Linked DNA regions of Homo sapiens: region 2 is linked to region 1. The links are contacts of gene promoters, found by promoter capture Hi-C in blood cells and fetal thymus (Javierre and others, 2016). All regions are on one chromosome and are shown on one strand. Each heading gives the region's core, a stretch centred on a gene start or on the middle of the fragment in contact. The rest is flanking DNA. Distances are from core to core; before and after follow the strand shown. Region 1 holds the start of CHMP4C (charged multivesicular body protein 4C). Region 2 overlaps LINC02235 (long intergenic non-protein coding RNA 2235).

Region 1 (6,912 bases), core at 958-3,457:
AGACAATGTTTCTTACTCTTACCTGTATCCCCAACACTAGCACAATGCCTGGATCATAGAGACACCTAATAAGCATCAGTTGAATGAAACCATGGATGTGTGGATTAGGCAATTCCTCAGTTATAACTTTGTCTCTCTGTTCTACTGTCCAATGTTCTCACAACAAAAAAAGTAACTAACGAACCCCAAAGAATGCCTTAGTATTCTGGATAAGTTCTTATTTAAATGCACTCCTCCATGAATTCAATAATGCTTGGAGGATCCCTTAAAGATAATGCCTAATAATTACCTCTTCACCCCATGCTATTTAATTAAACAAATACTTAATGAGTTTTTCCTCTAGTCCAAGTTGCACAGAGGGAAATACCATCATGTAAATAGTGAAAAGACCATGCGTTTTCAAACAGAAAGATCTCTTTCACTTTTGCTGCCTGTTAAATTTGGTTAAGTTATCAACTGAGCCTTGGGTTCTTCTTCTGTCTAACAGAAACAGCAATACCTATTTTGCAGGGTTTATGTAAGGATTAGTGATAAGCATATATTTATTGATAAGCCTGACACATAGTCAGTGCTCAAAAGATGGTAGCTGTTATTACTGTCACTGGAAGGTAAGCTCTTAGAGGGCAGACTATACTTGCATTCCCTGTACCTTACACTCAATAAAGGCTAGTTAAACTGAAAAGCAACGGGAACAATAGCAGAATATGTGCTACTTCTCAACTCTCAAGGGCCTTAAAAATCTAATCAAGAAAATACACTCCAAAACTTATTCATGAAATATTTAGATAATAAAGAAAAACAATACTTACGACAACTTATACATGAAATTAGAGCAAAATGTGTGTTATAGACCATACATGCTTTACATGGCCAGCCAGGAAATGATAGGAGGTGGCTGGCTGCAGTTACTGTGAAATGATAAGTTCACATATTTGTGTGTTAGAAGATGCTTACTGTAAGCCTCCTATGGAAGTGTTCAATTTCTTTGGCAAAATTTTATGCTATCTATGCCAATGTTGGATAAATAGATTAACTTGCTGCTTTGTGTTTGTATGCTTGCAGACAAAATTGTGTTATTGATCTTGGGTATCAAGGTGAATTTGTCAGAGTAATGGGTGTTTTTTTTTTTTTTTTTTCTCTTAAACAGTGGCTGGCTAACAATCAAAAATAGGTTTTGGTAATGTTGGGTAACGTTGCTCAAATACGGCTATATTATGCAGAGCACATGGCAATCGTTGAAGAGTAAAACACAGATAATTCCACTTCTTTGTAGTGTGCTTGACACAGGTTTGCAGCAGTATTGCATCATCTATAAGCATTACATATGGCTGTCCTTTCATCTTACTAAATTATTTGCCAGCAGATCTAATAGATGGGCTGAGATAGTGAGCATGAACAAAAGAATGTTTCTCTTCTCCAGGATATTCTCTACTTTTTGTTACTTAAGTATCTATGTAATAGCATTTGACATACAGCCAAACACCAGGGCAGCCCCATTTAAGGTTTTTGATACACTGAGGATCATTCAGAAAACTTCGGATTCCTAGTTATAGAGTTGAATCCAACCACCAACACACTCCAGAAGTCCTGACATTAGGAAAAGAGATGGCCACCATCTTTCACCCACTTCAAGTCCTGTAAGGATGATCTAGAATCTACACTGTGCCAACTAGCATCCAGGCACACATCAACCTGCCCGGACTACCAAATGCAGAAACAAGCCCAGTAGCAGCAGCTGCTCCGAGCTTGCCCACACACCTGCATCCTAGTGGCAGACAAATATCCTGGAAGCCTTTGTGTCCACACACTCATACCTACATGACATACACTTAGAGGAAAAGATCTGAATATTCTTATTCACAAGAACAGAGGCCTGAATACAGGAACACTATGCTCACGTACACACAAAAGACACGCATGGAATAAAGCATTTTGCATATCCAGTCTTGCGCACTTACACTTTCAGGTCCTGCACAAGACCCCTGGACATCGGTTTGCTTTTCTTTGAGCCATTCACAAACTAGTTCCTCGTTCCTGGGACCGTCCCTAGTGTGGATAAAAGCCAACTTCCCACAGTCTTTGTCGGTCTTTTCAACTTTTCTCTGCTCTCGCTCAACTCCCAGAGGGCCGGGTGGCGCCGGCCAGCCGACGTCCCAGCGGTGGCCTCCCCGCCCAGCCGCTGTGCAGCGGGGCGGGGCCGAACTGGCAGCCAGGAAATGCCCTGGAGTGTGTGTCACCTGTCCAGGACGACTTGTTGATTCCCAGGAGGGCCGCCTTTCCGGTCTGGGTCCCCGAGAGGACTGCCTTGCTCACCTGTCCCCTCGGCGCGGCCCCGGGGAGCTCCCGAGAGGCCCCCGGGATCGCTGGCCCTCCGAACTCCACAGCAATGAGCAAGTTGGGCAAGTTCTTTAAAGGGGGCGGCTCTTCTAAGAGCCGAGCCGCTCCCAGTCCCCAGGAGGCCCTGGTCCGACTTCGGGAGACTGAGGAGATGCTGGGCAAGAAACAAGAGTACCTGGAAAATCGAATCCAGAGAGAAATCGCCCTGGCCAAGAAGCACGGCACGCAGAATAAGCGAGGTAGGCTGGGGTCTGGCCCACAGGCGGGAGCCCATCTGCCTCTAGCCTTTCCCTTGGGGACAATCGGCCCACACCACTGAGGTCCCCAGGTGGCCAGGTTTGCTCCTGCAGTCTTTTCTAGGAACTGGTACTGACTCTTAGGGCACTGACTAGGGTGAGTTGAGCTAGACACTGGCACTGATGGCAAAATGTAAGGGGCCGCCAAAAATCTCAGTAATCAAGATGAACAATACTTTAATGCAATACCTAAAGGACTCAGAACCAATGCCAAAAAAGAAATGATGAAGAAAATATCAAAATTTTAAATAAAGACAAGATTGGTATTGATTTTTTTCATTTGCCTCTAGCTCTTATGTTGTTATGTGCAGCACATCTTTATTTAAAATTATTTTTTATAATGTGATGATTTGTTCATCGTGGATTTTTTAATATTAATTTTGAATTTTAAAAATATTGCATTAAAATATTATTTGTCTTGATTACTGAGTGTTTTCGCACCCCTGTAAATTTTGCTCCTGGTCCAGCTTTTTCTAGGCCAGCCTTGCTGACTCCAACACTAACCATGAAGTTTTCTGCTGTATGTTTGTATATTAAATTACACATTTTAACTTGCACGTAAATCTTCAGAAAAGGATATTCTAGTACGTTGTGGTCTACCTTGCTCCTCAGCTGTGGAAAGCTTTAGCTGGATGTTCGGCAGTTGAAGTCTTAAAAAAAAAAAAGGTAGAGGAATTAATTATTAAATTTCCTATCACTGACTTTTGGCACACACAAGAGACTTTGAGTCAGTAATGATTCTTGGTGTTCCTGTTGCACCTTGAACACCTGTTCTTTGCCAGAGTTAACTGATTTCTTCAGTATACTGCTCCTTCTATTGGAATACCTCTAAACAGCACCTGTGGCACAGATAAAAACTCAGTGAGAAGTTGAAGTGATTTGCTCTTGTAACACCGGGTTCATGGCAGACCCAGAAAAGGAAGTGGCAATATCGGACTCTGCTTACCACCAAACCCAAACATTTGCACCCTCAAGTTGGGCTTCTTTAGTCATAATGAAGCCTTGGGAAGATTTGGCTCACTCTACAGGATGCTGCCATTGTTTAATGCAGGAAAGGAATGAAGTCTCAAGGAGATGAACTTGAGAACTCTGCCTCTTTCTGTAAAAGTGTGCCAGCTACATTTATGCCCACTTACCACCAACAATAAGAAGGCTGTTTTATTGCATATAACTTTTGTGCATATTATAGCCTGTTTTAGAGGTAAGTACTGATTTCTACTTTTACTTTGTGTCTGAAAATATTCTGGGAAGTTATGCAATGGCAATTTCTAAAGAAAGACCATGTCATTATGGCTTGCTAAAAATGTTGTTGGTCATTTTGCTCCTTGGCCCTTCCTCTTCAGTTTGATACACACTCTGACGTTTGCTTAGTGTCTGTCAAGGGTTTTCTTCCCTTTGCCATCTATTTGGATCTGTGTACAGCTTTGTCTACCATGGTTGCTCAGCAAATATTGGTGGTGGTTGTTGTTGTTTTGAGACAGAGTTTCACTCTTGTTGCCCAGGCTGGAGTGCAATGGCGCGATCTTGGCTCACCGCAACCTCTGCCGCCCAGGTTCAAGCGATTCTCCTGCCTCAGCCTCCCGAGTCGCTGGGATTACAGGCATGTGCCACCACACCCAGCTAATTTTATATTTTTAATAGAGACAGGGTTTCTCCATGTTGGTAAGACTGGTCTCGAACTCCTGACCTCAGGTGATCCACCTGCCTTGGCCTCCCAAAGGGCTAGGATTACAAGTGTGAGCCACCGCACCTGGCTGATGTTGGTTTTAAAAATCTAAAAAATTGACCATTTCCTTCTAGGAAGTGGTAAAAATGTAAATTTGTTTTCAAAGACAGAGTGCAAAATAATGTGGGTTTTACTGATTTTTTTCAGAGGTACTCTTCAATTGGCAATGCACAAAAATTCGATCTCAATTTGACTTTATGAATAAAGACAAAAAATTTAAAGACAGTGCTAATTAAGACTACCAATCTAACTTCCTTAAATCAAGAAAGTTATAGATGCAAGTATGAATGGCAAATAAGTTTTTTTTTTTTTGAGACAGGATCTTACTCTATCGCCCAGGCTGGAGTACAGTGGCAGGATCTCAGGTCACTGCAGCTTCCAACTCCTGGGTTCAAGTGATTCTCCTGCCTCAGCTTCCCGAGTAGCTGGGATTACAGGCGTGCACCACCATGCCCAGCTAATTTTTGTATTTTTAGTAGATACGGGGTTTCACCATGTTGGCCAAGCTGGTCTCAAACTCTGGGCCTCAAGTGAACCTCCTGCCTGAGTCTCCCAAAGTGCTGGGATTACAGGTGTGAGCCACTGCGCCTAGCCCTAATTTTTAATAGAAAAGTCATTAACTCTGTCTTCAGAAGCTTCACTGGTGTTAGTGTCTAGAAACTCCCAGAGCTTCTAGAGTGACTCTGGGAGTAAGAAGAGGCTGGTTAGCATGAGGTCATCTGTAATCTAAGCTATGGAAAGAATTCAATCTTAGGCTCCTGCGTTGGTAACACGCTCAATATCAGAACCTTCTAAATAAACCAGATAACTTCATATACTTCATAACTTCATATACATAGTTAACTGTCTTCTATTAGCCACCAAGTGATATAAAATAGTAAAATAAAACCTGATATACTTACTACTAAATGGCCCCTGTGTGGCACAATGCCATTGCTAGAATGGCTGTAATTTATATGATAATCAGGGTGACATAATTTATGTGCAATTGAAGTTTTATTATTAGAGATGGTTGGTCAGCTAATATATTCTCTGAATGGCCAGGTAGCATTATATCAGAAAAGGCCACACTCCTAGCCATTTCAGATTCTTCAAAGATCAATTTCTCTACAACAACAGAAGCTTTGACAGCATTCTAAATGTCAAAATGAGTTTTACTGGTAAAATGAAAAACTTTTAATTAGCATAATAAATGTTAGAAATGGGGCAGGACATGGTGGCTCATTCCTGTAATCTCAGCAATCTGGGGGGCTGAAGTGGGCAGATTACTTGAGGTCAGGAGTTTGAGACCAGGCTGGCCAACATGGTGAAACCCCATCTCTACTAAAAGTACAAAATTAGCCGGATGTGGTGGAGCGTGTCTGTAATCCCAGCTACTTGGGAGGCTGAGGCAAAATAATTGCTTGAACCTGGGAGGTGGAGGTTGCAGTGAGCAGAGATCGCGCCATTGCACTCCAGCCTGAGCGACAGAGTCAGACTATGTCTCAATAAATAAATAAATAAATAAATAAATAAATAAATAAATAAATAAATAAATAAATGTTAGAAACGGGATCTCACTGGTGAATTTTTTTGAGACAGGGTCTCGCTTTGTCACTTAGGCTGGATTGCAGTGGTGTGATCAGGGCTCACTGCAGCCTTGACCTCCGAGACCCAAGTGATCCTTCCACCTCAGCTTCCTGAGTAGCTAGCACCACAGGCACGCACTACCACACCCAGCTATTTAATTTTCTTTTTTTTTTGTATAGGTGAGGTCTCCCTATGTTGCCCAGGCTGGTCTCAAACTCCTGGGCTTAAGCAATTCTCTTGCCTCATCCTCCCAAAGTGCTGACAAGAGCCACTGGGCCTGGCCTAATTGGTGAAATTCTACATATTCTAAATATGTGGATTGCTAAAACAGTTTAGAGACACTTCCAATACCCTCCGCACCCACCCCATGTATGAACAGGATGAATCTACTAGGTGTGTAATTAACTTAACACTAGAATGGTGCCTGAAACTAGATCTCAAATCAGTGCAGTGTCCAGTCCTTAGTTTAGGTGGGTTTCTGATGGTGCGCACCTCTAATAGGGCACAGCACCTGCCAGGGAACATTGCTGTCTTCCTCAGTGAGCCTTTCATGCAGGGTGAATTGGAGCACCTCAAAGTACCTAGAGTTGGGACTTCATTGAGCTCATGGGACAGGTTGGCAAATTATTTTTTGTGCTTGCTAGTGTATGTTTGTTTAATAATGTATATGCAGAATTTAGTCTGAAACTTGCTTTCATTACAACTCATTACTACTCATAGTACAGGGGTAGCTACTTCTCCTCCCTTCAAATTTATCTGGCAGTTACCATCATCATCCAGCAAAAAGAATTTGAGTAAACATGAACAAATTGATTTTGCAACAGTTGCTATCCAAGCCTCTGTTGATCAAAAGAGTAACAGTTGGAGCTTGAGTTATAATTTGGTTAAAAACTTTAGGAGGCCAGAGATTCTTGAATGCAGTTTATTTAGATTACTATGCTATAACTCTTGCTTTATAGGTGGTAATCTACTTTGTGGAAAAGC
Region 2 (7,222 bases), core at 1,828-4,327, 140 kb after region 1:
ATGTCATCCTTCCTCGGATATTGAATGGGAGATATGCTCCTATACAAGAGAAGAAACAGCAATCATGGATTGCCAAGTAAGTGATGAAAGTACCTGTTCAGGGTGCCTTTTGTTGAGGAACTGCCTTCCTTAGGAGGTACCACATTCTGCTACAGTAACTCAAGAGCCTGGATATCTTCTAAATAAATACATTATAATGGCAGTCTCTCTCTCTCTCTCTCTCTCTCTCTCTCTCTCTCTCTCTCTGTGTGTGTGTGTGTGTGTGTGTGTGTGTGTGTGGACACACCAGAAATCATTGAAAGAATCTAACTATTTATCTTAGATTTTTCCTCTATTCCCAAAACTTGTTTTATATCAATAATATTCACTTTAAAAGAACGTTTAGGAGATAATATAGTCTTTATGGAAATTTTTAAAAAGAGCTGCTTAGATGATACAGTTAGAGTCTATGAAGAGCCACCTTGTGGCAAAAGTTAGCATTTCACATTTATATATTTTTAAAGAAAAAATTACAAGCGGCTCTAAAAGAAATCTATTGAATAGCAAAATGAAAGTATTGATATTGTATACAAGTCAGATAATATGGTTTCTGAGATATATAGTGTTGATTTTAACAGCAAATATTATTCAAAGTCACTTATTGAGAATTTAAGAAACCTAGAGTAACACATGCAGCAGATGTTACATCCACCAATGAATTTATATTTTAAATAACAATGAAAATAAACTCATCCACTAGTTTATATTTAAAATGTAATTTCATTTGTATTTAAGAGGGCCAAGTTGCCTCATAGTACTCTCAGTTTCAGCACTAACTTTGTCCTTAAAAATGAAAACTTAAAAAGTATATTCAATTAGTTTTTTTGATATTTAATTTTAATAAAGCTTATTTGTATATTTCAATATATTTACATAACTTCAATTGTAATCCTGTATCAATAATCAAGAATATTAAATTTCCTTTTTGATTCAATTGTAACATTGATACCTTTGCAATTTTTCCTCATTTCCTTTCTTATGCTTTGGCAACTAACTAAACTTTTCTTTTTTAAATTAATTCCCAATTTTTAAGTTTTTCATAAAACTTTCCCATTTAATTGAATGTGGTAGGAAATTTGCAATTTTTAATGAGTATTCATAATGTACACTCAAGAATAAATAGCCACACCACTGTAGAGCTATCTTTCTCTTTTCCTTTCTCCACTGGCGCTTTGAAAACTTGCTGGAAGTGCTGAGGTTAATTCAGCATATTACTATCTGCCCTTCCCTTCTCCTACCCTATCTAGTTTCCTTCATTCCTGGTCTCCAAATTTCATATGATATCAGTGCTTGTCTGGTAACGGTCGGGGATGGGGTCAGGATAGGTGGTAATGTAGGTATTGGCATGGAAATATAGCAGGGAGATTTGGAATCTATATATCACAGATAGCAAGAAGCATAGCACAAGAAGCAGGAATGAATTGGAATGAAAATGAGAGAAAGAGAAAACAATGGGTCATGCTGTTACTCCTGACTAACAAAACCTCTCTGTGGTTCCGTGCTTCTTTTCCCATTCCTCAGAACTCTTCTTCCTCTCAAACCACCTCTCTCATCCAACCTCGTCTTAATTATTTTCCTTTCACCAGCTGTCAGTTTACAGATTATTCTTAGAACAGTGGTTCTCAAACTTTGGATTTCAGGACCATTTCATGCTCTTTAAAATTACTGAAAGAATCCCAAAGAGCTTTTGTTTTTGTGAGTTACACAGGAGCTCTTTGTCACCATCATATTGAACTTGTTTGGTCTCAGTATGGAATTCACAAGTTATCATGTCAGGTCAGTCGAGTGATTCTTTTTGTTTTCTTTGTGTTTTTGTTGCTCTAACTGGAGTGGGACCATATGATGCAGTGTGGATAGCTGCATACAAGCATTAAGACTCTTGAGAAAATACAGTGCACCAGGAAAACTACTATGAAAACTATCAGAGAATAATGGCAAAAGACTGAATAAAGTGCACTCCTAATAGGAACTCTCCTGAACTGAACAAATTAAAATCAGACAAATTTTTAAAATAAGTCAGAAGATGAATCTACTTGTTTTAACCAAGTAGCTTGTTTGTTGATTTCTTAAAATGGAGCTGCTGTCATACCAGACACATGTATCCAAGTGCAGCAAGAGATCTTAGCCATCACTCCCCATCTTCTGCCAGCCTCCCCACCCACCCTGCCCCAGTTCAGCCAACAGGTAGTCCAAAGCAATGCCGTTATCTAAAACAATCTTAGCAAGAGGATTTTTAAAAGGTTGCTGGGCAACTAAAGCCTTTGCAGTTGAGTCAGATATAGTAGCTAATGTTTAAGACAGAATTTTAATAATAACTTTACTTACATTTATGCCAATCCAGGGAAGGAGTATTCTACCAAAAATGCTCTCTAAATCTCAAGATCTCTCTACATGAGATATTTATGACTGCTGACAAATTCCTCTTTATTTTATAGAACAAATTAAGAGGTGTAGACCAATATTTAGTTTCCAATTGGTTATGGAGTGACAATAGTACTGTTAGAACTTCTAATCCACATTGGCCTCTTATTTTCCACTTATTGAGATATAAAGTTGTCCATGCATGCAGTTGATGATTAAATGCTCCACACATAAAATATCTCCTGGAAGGGCACAATAGGTAGTTCCCTGCGGGATGCCTGTGTGTTAGAGGTTACCAGTAGGGAAGCAATGGTAGTAATATTTATCCAAGGCTTCTTTGTCTTTCTTCTTTTTTTTTTTTTTTTGACAGTTTCACTCTTGTTGCCCAGGCTGGAGTGCAATGGTGTGATTTCAGCTTACTGAAACCTCCACCTCCTAGGTTCAAGAGATTCTCCTGCCTCAGCTTCCCGAGTAGCTGGAATTACAGGTATGTGCCACCATGCCCCGCTAATTTTGTATTTTTAGTAGAGATGGGGTTTCTCCATGTTGGTCAGGCTGGTCTCGAACTCCCAACCTCATTATTGCATGGTTGGAAGCTACTGACAGTTAAGGAATTGGGGTTATAAATTTGTCTATAAACTTTCAAATTATCTTTCTTTTGGTTTTCTTATTTTCTGGCATACTTTAACTACAAAACCCTCACTATGGGTTTTGCCTATTGTTAGATCTAAACAGTTAGATTTAAACATGGAACTTGAATATCTGACTCTAAAAGCCTCACGTTATAGAAAGCACCAGATGTGAAATTTGAATAAATAGTCACACTGAAAATAATGGTGAAATTTGTTACAGGGTAAACTTAAGGATCTCTAAAATCACGTAAGGGTTTAGGTTTAACATGACATATCCAACATTTAGTGCATTTCTCTGTGGAAGCTGTTGATTATCACAGAAGCCTTAATTATCACATTAGCTTGCCACATATAAGCAGAAAAGAAACACAGGGCAAAGTGGAAAAATAACAAAGGTTTCATGATGACAGAGGAGAGAAATTTTGATCTGTGACCTTGGAAAAGCTGTCCACACCTAGGATGTTGTCTGACTCTGAGGAGAAACCTCTCTGGTAAGTGTTATCTTGAGGTTTCCAACAGGAGTACAGTCCCAAGAGTTTGGAGAGATTCTCTTGAATTGAGAAATGTAGACCTAATACTCAAGGCCCTAAAATTTTGCTGCAGTGTGGCTGGTGAGAAGAACTTGGGATGATCCCTTCCTGTGGGGTTCAAGAGCAGTCTTTCTCCGGTGTCATTTCCAAAAGATCCAGTCTCCAGGTTCTAGGTCATAAAAGGTTTGTTTGTCCTCAGTTGGTGGATCATGAATGTTTTCTTTTAGTTGGTGAAAATATACTTTGGCATAACAACAATCATTGTTTCTTGATATATTCGGGTGTTCCAAAATATATGTAATAGTGTTATATCTGGAAAAAAGCCATGGTTTTTCTGTATTTTATTTTCATAGCCAATGTACTGCTTTACAGAAATACTTTAAAATACTGGAGTTTCCACTCCAGCCTGGGCAACATTGCAAGACTCCATCACAAAAAAAAAAAAAAAAAAAAAGCTGGAGTTTCTACCTATTAATATAAATTTTTCCAAGAAAAAGATAAGGGACAACATTAAAACTTCACAATTATACTGTAACCCTTGACTGTGTTTTCAGAAGTTGTTTGGGATGAATAAAATTGTTCAGGTTGTAATGAGTTTTAGAGAAGATGAGGAAAATGGATGAATTGGAAAATAAAGTATGTCTCTTAATTGAAAAGAGACTATGATTGTTTCTTTCCTATCTAAATCAAATTATTATGACAGTGGTTTCAGGCAATTAGAAAGAGGAATTATTCTCTGGAAATAATGACCTCATTATATAACAAAAAAATACAAGTAAAAAAAACTTCAGTTGTCCTTCCACTAAAATAAATGATTTAAAAAGTGAAAATATTCGTATTGTTTATCTGCAGAATTCATTTTTTTCCTCAAAATAATATACATATAGACATTAGAAGATAGGTGTCTGATTTTTTTTTTTTGAGATAGGGTTTCACCCTATTGCCCAGACTGGAGTGCAGTGGCATGATCTTGGCTCACTGCAGCCTTGACTTCCTGGGCTCAAGCAATTCTCCTACCTCAGTCTTCTGATTAGCTGGGACTATAGGCATGTGCCACCACACCCAGCTCATTTGTGTGGGTTTTTTTTTTTTTTTTTTTTTTTTTGTACAGACAGGGTTTTGCCATGTTGCCCAGGCTGATCTCAAGTGATCTGCCCGCCTTGGCCTCCCAAAGTATCAGCATTACAGGCATGAGCCACCACAACTGGCCAGGTATCTGATTCTTTACCAGAATTTTCATTTGGGCCACTATGATATATAAACTACCTAGGCAAAGGAAGTGAAACTATATAAATACATAAAATATTGCATAAATATTTAGGGTAAAATGTTTATGATTTTATGGGTTTATTTTCATAAAAGTTTCAGGAAATTAATTATTAAATTTATAACTTGAATATAATTTTAAATTTAGAAATATAATCTACATTTTCATATCATACATACTAATAAAAACACAATCCCAGAACATGAATGAAACAGTACATTGGACATTGAGTGTCTCAAATATTGATGCTTTTATAAAGATGCCATCATGTGCCATCTGGGAGAAGAAATACTTTCAACAATTTATTTTTTAACTTTTAGGGAAAATGATCTCCCTAAACTCCAGTAGTCACTAGACTTTTTAATAATGTGAAAAAGTACCAATTTATAGCCTCAAGAACAAATACTAATTGTCCAAATCCGGATGTTAGAAATAATTCCTAAAGCTTTCAATCATTTTGCTTTTCCCATTTACCAGTACATGGACCATGCAAACATTATTCAGGCATAGCTTTTCAACTCATAGAATTATCTTGATCATGACTTCCACATTTTGGAAATGAGGAAATTTGGTAAAATCATGTAATAATACTTATTTGCCTGTCTATTGATCCATATCTATCTAGTTAAAATATCTATTGATTGATCTGCCAATCTATTCATATGTCTCTTACCAGTCTACCTATGGCACATACACAGTGCATGCTGCTGTTCCTTCTACTGAACACATACTATCTTCTGCATATATACAGTGTTAGCTATCCTTTTCTATTTTTGTATAACGTTCTATAGATTGAATATTTAGAATAGAGGAATTTGGGGGTTAAATGCTCATAGAATCATATCAAGTCAATTCATCCTTAAATTGTGGGTATTGTTTGAAATATTTTCTTTGTTTTGAACCAGAACTTCAAATTCTAACCTTTGAGCCTCATTCTTCTAAAAAGCAGACCTAATCTTTCCTGAAATACTGATCTCGTTTCTAGCCCTAGTGTTTGTTTCTCCTTTCATCTTCAACCCAACCCTCTCCTACAGGCTTTCACACCAAGCTTTGGGGCTTTGTTTTAGGTACGTATCTCTAAACAAAAAATGTGTGTGTGTACAAATACACATATGTACCATCTCTTTATGGTTACTTTTCTTTCTGTGTTTTGGCTATTAATCTTATTCTCCACAAGTCTTAGTTGCAAACAATTCCTAAAGTTGTCACATGTGTTTATAACAATGAGTAGAAAAGGGGTAAAACAATAAATTTGAGATGATAAACCAATATGATTAAAAACAACCTTATAATTCTAATTCAGATTCCTTCTGTATGCTGCTTTCAAATGTAAATCTTCCAGAAATAGCCTTGCTCAAATCAGTTTCTCAAAACTTTTCATCAGCTCCACACTGTTTAAGGAATAAAGTACAAATAGTGTAAAATACCCTTTCATCCATCTTGCCAACTTTACCTACCACAATTTTTTTCATCAAAAACTTTAACAAAATATATCTGGTCATTATTTCCTAGTAGTCAGGCTATTGCAGAGGAGCCAGGATGCCTACGTTTAATTTTTACTTTGCCATCTCCTCACTGCATACTTTGTATACATTTGTTAAATTGACTCTATTTAACTAAAAAATTATGCCGCACTAAAAAACTAGTAATAATATTTATGCTGTAGGATTATTTTACAGAGAAAAAGTTGTAATACATGTAAAAACACAAAATTGTGCATGGCACATGGTAAGAATTCAATGTATATTAGCAAAAAATGGCAGGTATGCCTCATTGAGTTTACTTTTAAGTACCATTCATTTTTCCTATAAAATCATTACTTTTTTTCTCTTTGTTTAAGCCCTCCCTTCCTTCAAGACGTATTTCATCCTTTAGTGAAGGATGTAATATCTTTTATCCTTCAGCAATATCTCTTCTTCTGAACTTGTGTGTTTCTTCTCTGTGTCATTGATGCAGGGCTTAGGTAGGGTGACCACATTATTTTTATTGTTCAGGTTGGGACTGTGGATATGGAAAGTGAGTACTATTGATTATTAAACTGAGATAACAGGCATAGATTGGATGTGACCAGGGCAAAGGGACAGATGGTTACCCTATGAATAATGGAACCGTAAGTGATCAAACCTGTTATTATCAAATCAAAGCAAACTTTATCTTTGTATGCAAATTATTATGGCAAATATCCCATCAACTTAATTATCAGGAAATGAGAGTCATCAAAATGAACCTTAGCTGTTTCTGGCTATTCCCAGAGTACTGGTTCTCATCTGGTCCAGCACAAACCCTTATGTTTCTCCTGTTCAAGCTTCTTCATTTGATCCTCACGCTTCTGTCTTCTTGACTGCTGATCTTTAGTAGAGGGCCACTCCACCTGGTGCGGCTGCGTTAGCCAG

Evidence for each region. The method cuts DNA at HindIII sites, captures the fragments that hold promoters and counts their contacts. A CHiCAGO score of 5 or more calls a contact.
Region 2: a fragment that was not itself captured here is called in contact with the fragment with the promoter of CHMP4C in region 1 in 1 of 17 cell types (total CD8 T cells); the score reaches 5.3 in total CD8 T cells.

What each region holds. Positions count from the first base shown.
Region 1 is chr8:81,730,241-81,737,152 of GRCh38, forward strand. It overlaps CHMP4C (charged multivesicular body protein 4C), which reads left to right and starts at 2,208. Exons shown (of 5, transcript NM_152284.4): 1 at 2,208-2,576. The coding sequence starts at 2,387. The HindIII fragment of the contact is 11,241 bases long and covers 1-3,253 here.
Region 2 is chr8:81,870,632-81,877,853 of GRCh38, forward strand. LINC02235 (long intergenic non-protein coding RNA 2235) reads left to right here. Exons shown (of 8, transcript NR_170320.1): 7 at 2,771-2,887. Among named protein-coding and RNA genes, the nearest start is that of LINC02235, 32 kb to the left of the region's middle. The HindIII fragment of the contact is 4,389 bases long and covers 884-5,272 here.